Regions from separate parts of the Homo sapiens genome. Here regions 2 and 3 are each linked to region 1. Evidence: promoter capture Hi-C in 16 types of primary human blood cells and fetal thymus (Javierre and others, 2016). All regions are on one chromosome and are shown on one strand. The core of a region is centred on a gene start or on the middle of the fragment in contact, and the rest is flanking DNA. Distances in the headings are between cores, read along the strand shown.

Region 1 (4,546 bases), core at 795-3,294:
TCGGTCAAGATGCAAAAAGGTGGCCTTTTCTGCGAAGGCCACGCCCTCTGTAAATACAGTTACTACTTGGTGAAAAGCGCTCTACTTCCTAGCTCTTGTTGGTGAGAGGGAGAGCAAAGAACCAGGGCCCGGCATTCTTACGAGAGGAATTCAATGTCACAGGCACTGCCTGTTTGAGGAGAAGATCAGAAACGGTCCGACTCCCAGAACGCAGCACCCAGTTGCTTTGCACGCCAGGCCAGTCCTGGGGAAACGGTGCAACGCTTGTCTGGGCGTCGAGGAGGCTCCCTTGCGGTCCTCCCTGGGCCCTTGCCAGTCCCAAGGAGTTCCAACCCTGCTTTCTAACCCTTTAAAATCTGGAGAGGGCGGCCGCTGGGAGGCGGGACTAGGTGTTGGGGGTCTATAGCCTTAGCATCCAGTACTTTTGTAGTAGGGGCTTTTGTGGAGGTTTTAAAAAATAAGTAAGAAACGTCAAGGCACTGTCTCCCTGTACCTCGTCCCTCTTTTTCTTTTTTGAATGACCGGAGTCCTTCACTTCTTCCTTCACGGTTGCTGGGATTTGGGGTCTGGGAGAGATGGCCTCTGGGCCGTCTGGAGGCACAGCATGCTGTGCTTGCAGGGTCACTGGGGCGAGGGGCTCAGGTAGGAGCCTGACTGTACCTACGATGGGGACGCATCCGCCTTCCAGCCACAGCAATGGCCATCCTTAGTACACAAGTCAGTACTCCACGAAAGAAAATCCACGTGTAACTAAATTCAACATAAACAGTTTCCAGCACATGCCCGTCCCGAGCATCCTGTTAAGAGATACCCCGATCGCGCGCCCCAGAGTGGGAAGTGAGAGAGCCAGGCTGTGCACCAGGGACAGCGCGCGTCTGACGCCGCTGGCCTCCCGAATCGAACCCCAGAGCACCAGAGCCCTTCACTTTGTTAAGAAGTCCCCCACCCAGGCGCCCCCCTCGTCCTCCTCAAGTGCCCTCGGAAAGCGGACCAGACTCACCTACTGCCAGGCAGATGGGCAGCAGCAGCCTGAAGATGAGCCCGCACACCACTTCTGAGGCCATCGCGTCGGTCCGGCGAGTCGGAGCAGAGGGGCGAGGCTCGAGGGTCCCTAGGGGTGGTGGGACGCAAGGCCCATGCCCGTCTATGGCCTCTCGCCGCCGGCAGCTCGCAGCCACCCGAGCATCGCCTCGGCGCGGGCCGCGACGCTCTCCGCCCCGAGGGCACGCTCCCGGGGCTCTTGGCCGCCCCTCGCCCACCGGGCTCTGGGTAGCCCCTCACCAGGCTCTTGGCGGCCACCTAGCCCGGCGCCCGGCCCCCTGCGGCCGGCCCATTTAGTGTGAATCCTGGATCCGGCAGCGGCGGCGGCTTCTTCAGGGGTAGCTGATGCCGGGGCCTTGGAGAGGGACGCTTTGGGAGGGTCCTGGGAGGCGGCGCGGCGAGCAAAGGGGGCAAGAAGGGCGTGCTGTGCTCCCGCCTGGCTCCCGGGGCGTCGTTTGGGGGCGGCCGGGGAGTTTTCTACTTGGAAGCCCCTCTGAAGCCACCGCGTCTCCTTTGCCCGGCCTCGTCTCCGCTGCCCACGCAGGCTGCCGCGCTCTGGCCTCGGCCCCGGCTCTCGGAGCTGCCCGGCGGGCTCCGGGTCTCGCCCTCCAGCCCCCAGGCGGCCCGCGGCGGATCCCCGAGAGGCAGCGCAGCTCAGCCCCTGCGCCCCCCAGCTTCGGGCCGGAGAGACCGGGGTGGGAGCTGCCAGGCGCGCAGAACCATCCCCGCCACCACGGGGCTCGCCTTGTGGGTCCGGTGCGCGGGCGGCGCTGCGAGTCCCTCCCTCACTCGAAGGAACGGCGCGAGCGTGGGGAGAAATGGAGACCAGAGCGCATATCGGGTGAGTGGGTCTCCCACTCCCTCCTCCACCGCCTCAATTTAAAACTCAAGAGAAAAACCAGCGCCGTCCCGTCGCCCAGCGCGACCACCGCCTGCCGCCTTGCAGCCTCGCCCTCGCGGCGCAGCCGGGGCTCCCCGGCGGCGCGCGCTTCTCCACCTTCAATGAAACTTTCGAAGCCCTCACTCGGGGACGGGCGTGTCCCCCGGCCAATGGGATGGCGGCTCCGGGGCCTGCGCGCGCGGAGCCCGCCCCTGAGCGGCTGGGGAAGTGAGAGCCTTGCACCGGCGCGGAGGGCAAGCCCCCACCCGCGGCTCCCGCGCCTGGGAGAGACCCGGCCTGGCCTGCCAGTGGGCTGCGCGCCTTGGCTCGCCCTCCGCGGGCACTCCTGCCCCACTGGCTCCCGCAGCCCCGCGGCTCTGCGTGGTTCTGTCATTCCGGTGGTGCACCCTGGCATCCAGTCCACCCGGCCGGGCCCTGAGCTTGCCCAAACCCAGGGAACCGTTTAAGGTCCGAGGGAAACGCACAGGCCCGGCAGGAGAGAAGCCAGGGGCTTGGAGAGTCCTGTGCGACCCCGACTTCTGCTGGGTCCACAGGTGCACACTGGCATTAAGAAGAATAGAGCTGAATTCATCTACACCGTTGACCCTGCCCATATTTCACATAGCAAGAACTTGCCATTCTGAATAGACTCTGGGAAATCCCGGGTCTTCCCCAACAGATAATGCACCCACTTTGTGCATTTGGGGGAACTCTCCGTTTTCACCTCAGTTTTGCTCCTTGCTTGTCGTGGCTCTGGGGAAAGAGAGCGTTGGCACTGAGAATATTCTCCCTTTCTCCTAGTGCACTGCTTTTTGCCTGTTCTAGGCAAGATCTAGAGAAATCTGGCTCTAGCTGGGAGACTGCAGTGTGCCTGGGTCTTTTATTTAACTGTTATCCGAGAGTGGAGGAGATTTGCTAGAGCACAGTAGGGGTCTTTCCGGACATGGAGGAAGAGGCTGTTAGCATCTGTAGAGAGGACTGTTCAGGACTGGCATTCCATCAGGAGGACACACTGGGAAGGACCTGGCTTCCCTTCCGCACCTACATTCCTGGCTTGCATTAGTTGGAGGGGATAGAGCAGTGAGCTGATGAAAAACAGGCAAACCCCCGTCTTTTTAGCCATTTGAAACGCTTTTGTGGACATCCCTTTTTTGAGACAGGGTAAGCTTGTGGTTTGAGCTCAGGTGCCTTCACGAATTCTCTGAGAATTACAGAAAAACTATGAACCATTGCTTTTTGAATGAAGACTCAAGACAGTTGGCATATGGTGAAGACACCCTGAAACTTAAACCACCCATGTGCTCTGCCATCCTCAAGAAGCTTAGATAGCACCTAAACCCGGGCGTAGTCATGAGCTCAACAGCAGACCTACAGGAGACGATAGAACTTAAATTAGCATCCAGTCACCAAGAAATGCTATCAAGAAATGGTTTGTGTAGCCTGTTTGTAGAAGCCTGATATAAATCTACCACTAATTTTGATGTTCATAAGTCTGCCTTCACATCCATGCCCTCCCCACCTCACCCCATGTACGACTCATTCTTGGGAGCTAATAGGTGAAGGACTCCTGAATTTTAAATAATACTGTGTCATCACATGAATTCTGTATTCTCTGAATACTTTCTTATGTTCTTGATAGGCTTCCCATACTAACAACTGTCTAGACTTTTTCACAATAATTCTCTTTCAAAATAACATAAGCTGGGAGGCACAAGATTCCCAGCAGGTGGGTGGTCTTACCAAATAAACTTCGAGCTTTCTCTGCCACAGTGTGTACCAACTTGGCTGCTGGGGCGTTAGAGATTTTAACAACTACATCCCAGTTCTGAGACTTCCAACGTATGTACTCAAGGGGAAGTTTCAGCGGTCTAGACTACATCTGAAATAGGCTTCTCCATGCTGGCTACATGTTGCAGTCACCTGGGGAGCTTTTGAAAAACGCTCAGTCTCCACACTCCCTGAAATCCTGATTTAATTGGTCTGCGATGGGGCCCCCACACCTGTATTTTTCTTAAAGCTCTCAAGTGATTCTTAAGTATGCAGTCAGGGGTGAAGACCGCTGTCCTCATTTTCATATCAGACTCAGAAAATAGTCCATTGGCTTTCAAAACCAGCATCTCCAAACCTCATCCACCTTTCTGAAGCTGTATTTTCTTTCACAATGGACTTGACTTGAGCATACATATCCATAGCAGTGGCATTGTTTTTACAAGGGCTGTTTAACCCTCAATTTTCCCTGCTCTCATAGAAGCAGTATCTGGTGTCTAGACAGGTTAGTTTTTAAGGACTCACCAGCCCATGAGGGTATTGATCACTGTTCGGGAGCTCTGCTTGCCTGGCAAACTTTATTCCAAAGTTTGCCAGAATCTTGTCTAAAATTTGAAAGAGTATGTGAGTTTAAAAATGCTTTGGGGAGAAATCAAACATGTAAAATACTCATGGACATATTATTTTGATATTTCATGGGTACCTGATGTGTATAATCACCAGTTTACCCCGGTAATGAATTAAGCACCAGACACCCTATGCCTCTCTGCATCCACAATGACAAACAATGACTTCTTTTGATCATTATTGAGACTTTTAGTGCCTCAGCTTCTTCATCTGTAAGTTAAGGAAAGCAGT
Region 2 (4,546 bases), core at 1,031-3,530, 600 kb before region 1:
GATTGCATCTGTTGCCTAAAAGAACTAAACAGGTGGTAATTTTATGCTTCACACAAGCAACATCTACTAATAGACTGTGTGGCATGGAGTCTAAAGTTTTATGTTTGTTATATTTAGTTAGTGCACTTATGTTTTTACATTAACATGAGTCCATAAGATGTCCTAATTTAATACTTTCTATGTTAGTGTAGCAAAGAATCTATTTAATATATTAATCTCTTGCTTCTCCTTCAGTTTTGGAGAGTCAAAATTCAGAAGTGATTCGTAGTTTCATTTAGATTACATCTGGGAAAAGTCAGTCCAAGGCCAGTGCCCTTGTTCCTTTTTAGAAAAGGCCTTTCCAGGCTGGGTGCAGTGGCTCATGCCTGTAATCACAACACTTTGGGAGGCTGAGGCAGGCAGATCACCTGAGGTCAGAAGTTCAAGATTAGCCTTGGCCAAATGGTGAAACTCCTTCTCTACTAAAAATACAAAAAGTAGCCGGGTGTGATGACGCACACCTATAATCCCAGCTACTCGGGAGGCTGGAGAATCGCTTGAACCCAGGAGGCACAGGTTGCAGTGAGACTCCCATCTCAAAAAAAAAAAAAAAGAAAAGAAAAGAAAAAAAGACCTTTCCAGCAAGTTGATCATGACCTTGTGCCTCTGAGAGAAGGTCTATGCCTCTGAGACAAGGTGTGTGGTCTCAGTGAACCCAAATCCCTCCTAGAAGACTCACTTAGCAAAGAAAAGAGCTGCTTCTCACCAGTTGTCTGAGACAGTCACTAGATCCTAAACACAAGGAGGGTTGGGTGTGTATATGTTCAGGGGTGGGATGTGTGCTATTAAGGAGAATCACTGGGTTTCTGTCTTGCATAACTGTTCTGTCCATGGTGCCATCAATAACTGAGATAAGGAATATAGAAACAAACTTATCAGTGATGATAATAAACTTAGCTGGGAATATGACACATAAACTAAACATTTCTGTAGGTAGTTAAAAATAGGTTTTGGAGTTCAGGAAATAGTTGGGGCCAGAGGAACAGTTTGAGTTGTGGTGTAGAAGGTGTCTGTTGAAAGCTTGGGGATGAATGAGGTTCTGTGACAGTTTTCTGCCATTTGCACATAACTTCTGTGGGGTTTCAATTTTGTTACATTTGGGGAAGATAAAAACAATTTATTCTTTTTTCAGCAAAACCAAATTCTTGTCATTTTGTTAGGAATATTAAGTATTACCTGATGGAAAAGTTGAAAGCATCTGTGTTTCATTATAATAAGTAACTAATACTTTTCTGGATACATTTAAAAATAGATGGCTTTGTATGCTAATTTCATGGCCTTTTAGCAAAGTCGATCAACTTTTTCGACTACAAACTCATGTAAGGGCTTGGCTCTTTTGTTAGGTAACTATATATTAGCACATAGAAATGCTAATATTATGTCAAGGAAATAAACAGTTTATGCGTAAAGAATGCACCCTTTATAGTTAAATATATGAAAAGTTTAAAATACTGAGATTGCTAATAGAATGATATAATCTAGACACGACGGGCACAGAATATTCTGACCATAATTTATTTTATAAAACAGGATCTGTTATAAGCTCAGGGTCACAATTATAAATGATACAGATACATGTAGCTGTAGTCCGCCTTGCATTAATTTTTTATTTCTGCATAGCAGATTGCTACAAACTTAGCAGCTTAAAACAGTACTCACTGATTAGCTCACAGTTTCATGAGGCCAGAAGTCTGGATACAGTGTAGCTAGGTCCTAGTGTAGCTAGGTAGCAGAGCTAGGGTCTCACCAGGCCGAAATGAAGGTGTCGGAGGGGGCTGATCTCACCGGAGGCTTGGGTCCTTTTCCAAGCTCATTGATTGTTGGCAGAATTGATTTCCTTGCAGCTGTGTGGAAGAGATTCCTGTTTTCTTGTTGCCTGTTCGCCAGGAACTGCTCTCAGCTTTGAGTTTGCCTTCAGTTCCTGGCCGTGTGCCCCCATTGGTGGTTCACAGCATGGCAGTTTGCTGCTAATTCGAGACATCAGGAGTACTCTGGCCTCTAACTTAAGGAAGGGCCCACCTGATTAAGTCAGGCCCACACAGACAGTGATTCACTCGAAGTCAGCTGATTTGTGTCCTAATCACAGGATGGCCCATCATATTCCGAGGGTCACACCTACACTTAAAGGGGGATTATAGAGGAAATGTTTACAAGGGGCAAGAATCGGGAGCACTCTTAGAATTCTGCTACCAAACCCAGCTTATAAATTGACTTTGTTCCAAAAATTTATCAAGTTGACCTGTGGAAATTCAGAATGCATTTCTCCTATGAGTGTCATTTTATAAGGCACTAAGTTGCCAGCGTGCATCCCATAAAGATTCAGTTTAACTCATGATGTAAGTAGCCATAATAGCATAAGCCAAGCCACTGTGTGTGTGGTGTGTGTGTGTGTCTGTGTATACATGCCACTATTTTTAAAAAGATAACATACAGGCTGGGTGCGGTGGCTCACGTCTATAATCCCAGCACTTTGGGGGGCTGAGGCAGGTGGATCCCCTGAGGTCAGGAGTTCGAGACCAGCCTGGCCAACATAGCGAAACCCCATCTCTATTAAAAATACAGAAATTAGCTGGGCGTGGTGGTGGGCGCCTGTAATCCCAGCTACTCGGGAGGCTGAGGCAAGAGAATCACTTGAACCCGGGAGGCAGAGGTTGCGGTGAGCCGAGATGTCGCCACTGCACTCCAGCCTGGGCAACAGAGTGAGACTCCGTCTCAAAAAAAAATAAAAAGACAGAAAAATAGAGCATATAGCATAACAAGCATAACATTTTTGTATTTTTACTTTGGTTTACAATACCACTTACCTCCCTTTGAATCCCGATAGTACAGACTCTTGCCCCTTTTGGCTGTTGGTTGTGTGTATTCCCAATGCCCAGACCCTGGTAGTTTCTCCCATAACCGTGGACTGTTATTGGGATGAGAGCAGTGGCTAAAGACTGTACATTTCACTCAGTCTCAAGTTGTACTACTGAGGGAGTCCTGGCATTTGGAGTATACTACAGCTTTGCAGGGAGGGGAGGTTCAATTAGGGTTTGATGGAATTAGGGCTGGGGGAATGAGAAAGGGGTAAGGGCCTGGAGGGTTTGGGGGAAATGTTTTGGTGACCCCTTTCCTTGCTTTCGTCTTCATTCTGCCATTGGGCAAAATGGAAGAAAAGGAGAATGTATGAGGGTCAATGGAAAAGATGAATGTTGAAGACTGAAGATGCAGGAAGGCTTTTGTTTAGGTCTCTAACTTGCCTCCCCTCTGCTGCCCTTTTAGGCACCTCAGAGCTTGCTAGGGCCACTGGGGCAGCAGCGGAGTATGTGATGGAGGGACACAGTCGGGGGAAGGCACCGAGTGCCTTGGGTGTCTGGATGTTCTTTCAGTCGGGAGGAAAGAAATCTTGGGTGATTTAATCGAAGATCGTCTCAAGTACGTATCACGAAGAAGTCGTGACACTCGCTATTGGACAGTCCTTACTAAGCTTAAAACTCCCCGTTTGACCTAACCCATCCTTGAGTTCTTTTGCTTTTTCTGTCAGCGTGCAGCCTGAAAGTGGGGAGTCAGACATTTGAAAGGTAAGCCAGATGAGCAGAGCATGTGGAAACCTGGGTCCTGGGGCAGCTGCTAATAATACCTGTCCTCCTGGTGTCTCTACAATCTATGATGTCAAGTACATTTCACAGGGGACCTCTGCTATAGATCATTTAGACCTGCTTTTTTTACATTTCTGTGTTTTGTTTTAGGTTTGATGAGGCGGCACTCTCTATTCAGAAAGAAAAAAATATTTATAAGGAAATTGAGAATTATCCAACTTGTTATAAGGTATTCTTTGAAAGTGTTTGTTTTTGGTATTACATTAGATGATTTTTTATACTGGTATGAATAAGTACTTAAGAAAGGATTCTATGGGTATTTCTATGTTTTTGTAAAATAATACTTCATGGGCCTCTATTTTTGACCAAGATAGAGTAAGCCCACTACAGCTTGTTTCTCTGCTGATTACAGCTAAACTACTGGATAAAATACAAAAGCAACCACCCTTGAACTCTGAAAAGTAAATAAAAAGAGACTAAGGAGAGGAGCAAACACGTGGAGAAACAACCACCATGGGAATGAGTTTCTCGGGTTTTTTTCCATTTCCTCTTGCAGCATTCATTGCCCTGCCCTGAGAGAAGCCCACAGTTGTGGAGCTGGGCAGCAAAGGCTGCAACAATGAAAACTCCAAAAGAAACCCCGCCTTTCTAACCAGCAATGGGAGAAGAGGTCCCATTGTTTTCCTCTCCTTTGGCTTTGCTCCAAGCTTGTCCCAGGCATGGAGCTACACTGTGATGATGGCTCAGGTTGATAAAACTCCACAAGGACCCCAGTCTCTTTTGCCAGAGGAACTAGGAAAATGAGCTAGAGAGCAAGGAGAAAATTCCGGAAAGGAGAGAGCTGGAAACGGAGTCCCCTGAGTGTGGATGTGGCCCACACAAGTCTTGGGTTTACTCTTCAGCTGTGCTGAGACAGGCCTCAAAGTAGC
Region 3 (4,546 bases), core at 1,369-3,868, 570 kb before region 1:
GCCGTTGATATTTTCACTGCCGCCTCATCAGAAACCCAGGCAGAACCACACAGCCAAGCTTTTCCCAAATGCCTAATCCACAGAAACTGTGAGAAATAAAAATCTTGTTTTGTTTTAAGGCACGAGGTTTTGGAGGGATTTGCTATGTAGCATTCTATGACTAACACACATTCTGTGGAGCAAACCCTCTAGCACTTGTTGTGTCTCATTTGGGCCCCAAATCAGTACCACTGGAGACTCAGCCTCCTACAAAGTACCCAATAAAAACAATTTCTTCTGCTCCTTGTTCTAATTGCTGTCTACATAAAGGCACAAACCCAAGGCATCAGAAGCTGCGCCATCATCCTGTCTGCTGCCTAGACTGTGGGCGTTTCCTTTCCTCCCTGTGAATCAAACCCCACTTTGTCTAGTTGGTAGTGGATCTGACTTGATTGCAAGAAAGGGAAGCCCTTCTTCCACTTAAGAGGATGAGTTGTGGTTGGTCTAACCAAGACATGGTCACCTAATCTTTTTTCATCCAAGACAGGATCACTGCCTCATGACGGGCAATGCTGTGGAATAAACGTGCACTGGGGATCCCCTTCCTTCCCCCATACTAAAGCATAATCTCCCTTGGAGAAAGCTCCTTGCTTCCCTCCCTTTCAGCTGTCTCCCAGTCTTGACCCTGGAAGTGTCTGAAGGCCTAGCCTGTGTCTTACATTCATAGGGCAACATGTCAACGTTTTTAAGAATGTTACAGCAGCTGGGCAGGTTGGCTCATGCCTATAATTCCAGCATTTTGGGAGGTTGAGGCGGATGGATCACTTGAGGTCAGGAGTTTGAGACCAGCCTGACCAACATGGTGAAACCCAGTCTCTACTAAAAAAAAATACAAAATTAGCTGGGTGTGGTGGCACACACCTGTAATCCCAGCTACTTGGGAGGCTGAGGCAGGAGAATCACTTGAGTCCGGGAGGCGGAGGTTGCAGTGAGCTAAGATTGCACCATTGCACTCCAGCCTGGCGACAAGAGTGAAACTCCGTCTCAAAAAAAAAAAAAAATTTACAGCAGAACTTCATAATGTTTTTAAGCCGCTGTGTCAGTTCATTTCTAACTACACTCAAACTTCCTGTTACAGGGGAAAAAGCAAATATATCCATTTGTTTATGCAACTTGTATTGCTTTGTCTTTCTGGTAATTCTGCTCTCCATTCTGTGGTCATGCTCCTTCCTGGGAATGGACTTTGTCTTTTCCAAAATTCCACAGAAAAATGCTGAAGAAATAGAAGATGAGGCCAAGCATGGTGGCTCACACCTGTAATCTCAGCACTTTGGGAGTGCAAGGCGGGTGGATCACTGGAGGTCAGGAGTTCGAGACCAGCCTGGCCAACATGGTGAAACCCTGTCTCTACTAAAAATACAAAAATTAGCTGGGCATGGCGGCACGTGCCTGTAATTCCAGATACTTGGGAGGCTGAGGCAGGAGAACCACTTGACCCTGGGAGGCAGAGGTTGCAGTGAGCAGAGATCGCACCATTGCACAACAAGAGTGAGACTCCATCTCAAAAAAAAAAAAAGAAAAAGAAAAAAGAAACAGAAGACAAATGTGCTTTCAATCCAGCATTCCTCAGAGTCTGTAAGTTGGCTTTTCAACAATTTATCCACTTAGTTTTCCATTTTGATGGGGTGGCATTTCCGGTTGTGTGTCCACATCTGTATGGTTTCTGTGTTCACAGAGGAAGAAGGCAGGGCTTGGGAAGAGGCAGCCATCACTGCACATTCCCTGGGAGGGATTTTCGCATGGCCTGTGGGCTTTTGCTTGCTTATTCGGATCAGAGAAACAAATACATAGAGACTAAGGACAATTTTCAGTGTTATATTGCCCGCAGCTCTCACTGCTCGCAGAAGAGTGAGCGGGACTGTGCATGGGGCCTGGGAGAGGATATTTTCTTCCCATGCATACATGAGGGAAGGCTCTTTATTTCGAACAACTCAAAATTTAAGGGGTAGAGTTGAACACATACGAGATGAAGCATGAAAAAAAATTACTGATTTTATTTCTTTGACTTCCTGAGCACGTGCACACCAGAATGAACACTACAGCAGCCGGGAGTGTCATGGGGCCCCTTGAAAGTGAGGTGCCCCTCATCACCCACACTGTGGCCCTCCTCCCTGGCTCAGCTTCCTTTCACCAGGTGAATGGTGGCGATGGCCTCTTGACCTGAGAAACCAGCCTTCCTTTTATGCCTGTGTGCCTAAGCTAAAAGATCAACAGCTGTCTCCCCTTCAATGTGTAGATATTACAATCTGAAAATAAAATCCTCTTTATCAAAACAATAATCTGAAAATTAGCATAACGTTAGGTTCCTGGTATTATAGATGAAGAAATTAGAGAAACATTTTAATAATAGCACTGAGGAGGGATATTTTACTGCTCAGTTGGTGAGTTAGAGGATACAGTTACTGCCAAGAAATCTTTCTGCTTTTATTTTCCTTACTGAACAAATCAATGAATAATACAGATATAGATGCAAGGTGTTCTGGCCCAGTATCCCTGTGACATTCTGTATTTCCTTATCTAATTGGCTGCTTAGCTTTTTGTCCATCACGTATCTTTACTGTGTATCACCTATTTATCTCTCTGTAATTCCATCATCATAATTCCCATCCCCATCAATGTTGCCTTTCCAACTAGAAGTCCATGCAGAGTTCCACAGTTCTTAACCACACATAATGTCTCACACAAAATAACTGGTTTAGTAAATATTTCTTTTTAGTTGTTGTTTTGTGGAAATTCTTTAATTTTTGTTCATTTGAAAAGAAAAGAACATCAAGCAACCCAAAAAGTGCAAAGGAAAAAAAATTCATTCAAATTTTATTATTCAGAAATAAACGTTACCTTTGTGACTATCACTCCAGTCTCCTTTCCGTGTGGATACTGGTGAAAGGGTCAATAGATAAACACATTATTATATAGGATTCTGTTTACTAATTAAAAATAAAGTTATAACAATCGCCATTGAATTTAATAAAAGAAAAAAATGAAATAATTGTTGAAATTCAGATAAATGTTTCTTCATCAGAGGTATTCATTTCTGTAAGATTCTTCTCAAATTTAAAAAGGATTGTTTATGCTTGTATTTCTAACTATTTTAAGCATTTTTAGGCATTTTCTGTTGATTCTCAGCTCTGAAATATGGGGCAATTGGTACAATCTTGGGTCCTTGAATAGTTTTTCTTAAAATGTCCTGACTTTTAAAAAGTTATATAATCATGCCTGTAATCCCAGCACTTTGGGAGGCCGAGGCAGGCGGATCACGAAGTCAGGAGATCAAGACCATCCTGGCTAACACGGTGAAACCCCATCTCTACTGAAAATACAAAAAAAAAAATGGTGTGAACCCAGGAGGCAGAGCTTGCAGTGAGCCGAGATCGCACCACTGCACTCCAGCCTGGGCAACAGAGGGAGACTCTGTCTCAAAAAAAAAAAGTTATATTAAAATTTTTCTATTTTCAAAGTTCCTAACACTTCTCTTTTTTCACCAAAGTTTTCTAGTTCTTTAGTCTTAGTTTTATAGTTGATAGATTTAGAACTCACCACCAGTCTTTTTTTTTTTCTTTTTCTTTTTAGTTGACCTGGAATAAGTGTACATATTTATGGGGTAAGAGTGATATTTTCATACATGTATACGATGTGTAATGATCAAATCAGGGTAATTGGGATGTCAGTCACCCCCAACATTTATCTTTTCTTTGTGTTGGAAACATTACAAATCCTCTCTTGTAGCTATTTTGAAATATACAATAAATTACTATTAACTATTATTTCCCTACTCTAATATTGAACAGAAGATAGTATTTTTTCTCTCTGTGTTTTTCTACTCATTAGCCAACCTTTCCTCATCCCCCTATCGCCTCTACCCTTCCCAGCCTCTGGCAACCACCAATCTACTCTCCACCTCCATGAGATCCACTTTTTAGCTCCCACATATGACAAAATATGATATTTGGCTTTTATGTCTGGCTTGTTTTACTTAACATAATGACCTCCAGTCTCATACATGTTGCTGCAAATGACAAGATTTCATTCTTTTTAATGGATGAATAATATTCCGTTGTGCATATGTATCCTACTTTCCTCGCTTATCCTTTGATGGACACTTAGGTTGATTCCATATCTTGGCTATTATGAATAAAAGCTGTAATAAATATGGGATGCAGATACCTCTTTGATACAATAATTTCCTTTCTTTTGGATAAATACTCAGCAGTAGGATTGCTGGATCTTCTGGTCATTCTATTTTTAGTTTTTTGAGAAACATCCATACTGTTCTCCATAGTGGCTGTAGAAATCTACATTCCCACCAATGGTGTATAAGAGTTTGCCTTTCCTGCAGCCTCACCAGCATTTGTTATTTTTTGTCTTTTGGATAATAAACCATTCTAATGGGTGAGATGATACCTCATTGTGGTTTTGATTTGCTTTTCTCTGATTAGTGATGATCAGCATTTCACCACTAGTCTTTGACTACAGTTTTTCCTTTTTTAAAAAAATTATTTTGATTCAT

Evidence for each region. Contacts are between HindIII fragments. The CHiCAGO score rates a contact against its expected background, and 5 or more counts as called.
Region 2: a contact is called between a fragment that was not itself captured here and the fragment with the promoter of PIEZO2 in region 1, in 1 of 17 cell types (megakaryocytes). The highest score is 8.0, in megakaryocytes.
Region 3: a fragment that was not itself captured here is called in contact with the fragment with the promoter of PIEZO2 in region 1 in 2 of 17 cell types (megakaryocytes and endothelial precursors); the score reaches 5.1 in megakaryocytes.

Annotation. Positions count from the first base shown.
Region 1 is chr18:11,147,525-11,152,070 of GRCh38, forward strand. It overlaps PIEZO2 (piezo type mechanosensitive ion channel component 2), which reads right to left and starts at 2,045. Exons shown (of 56, transcript NM_001378183.1): 1 at 1,001-2,045. The coding sequence starts at 1,064. It overlaps LOC124904249 (a long non-coding RNA gene), which reads right to left and starts at 992. Exons shown (of 2, transcript XR_007066288.1): 1 at 1-992. RefSeq lists enhancers at 538-587, 616-1,454 and silencers at 1,148-1,217, 1,228-1,407, 1,428-1,707, 1,948-2,397. The HindIII fragment of the contact is 3,432 bases long and covers 1-3,085 here.
Region 2 is chr18:10,542,559-10,547,104 of GRCh38, forward strand. NAPG (NSF attachment protein gamma) reads left to right here. Exons shown (of 12, transcript NM_003826.3): 9 at 3,768-3,846. Among named protein-coding and RNA genes, the nearest start is that of NAPG, 19 kb to the left of the region's middle. The HindIII fragment of the contact is 2,446 bases long and covers 1,058-3,503 here.
Region 3 is chr18:10,580,663-10,585,208 of GRCh38, forward strand. No RefSeq gene overlaps it. Among named protein-coding and RNA genes, the nearest start is that of LINC01887, 43 kb to the right of the region's middle. The HindIII fragment of the contact is 5,125 bases long and covers 57-4,546 here.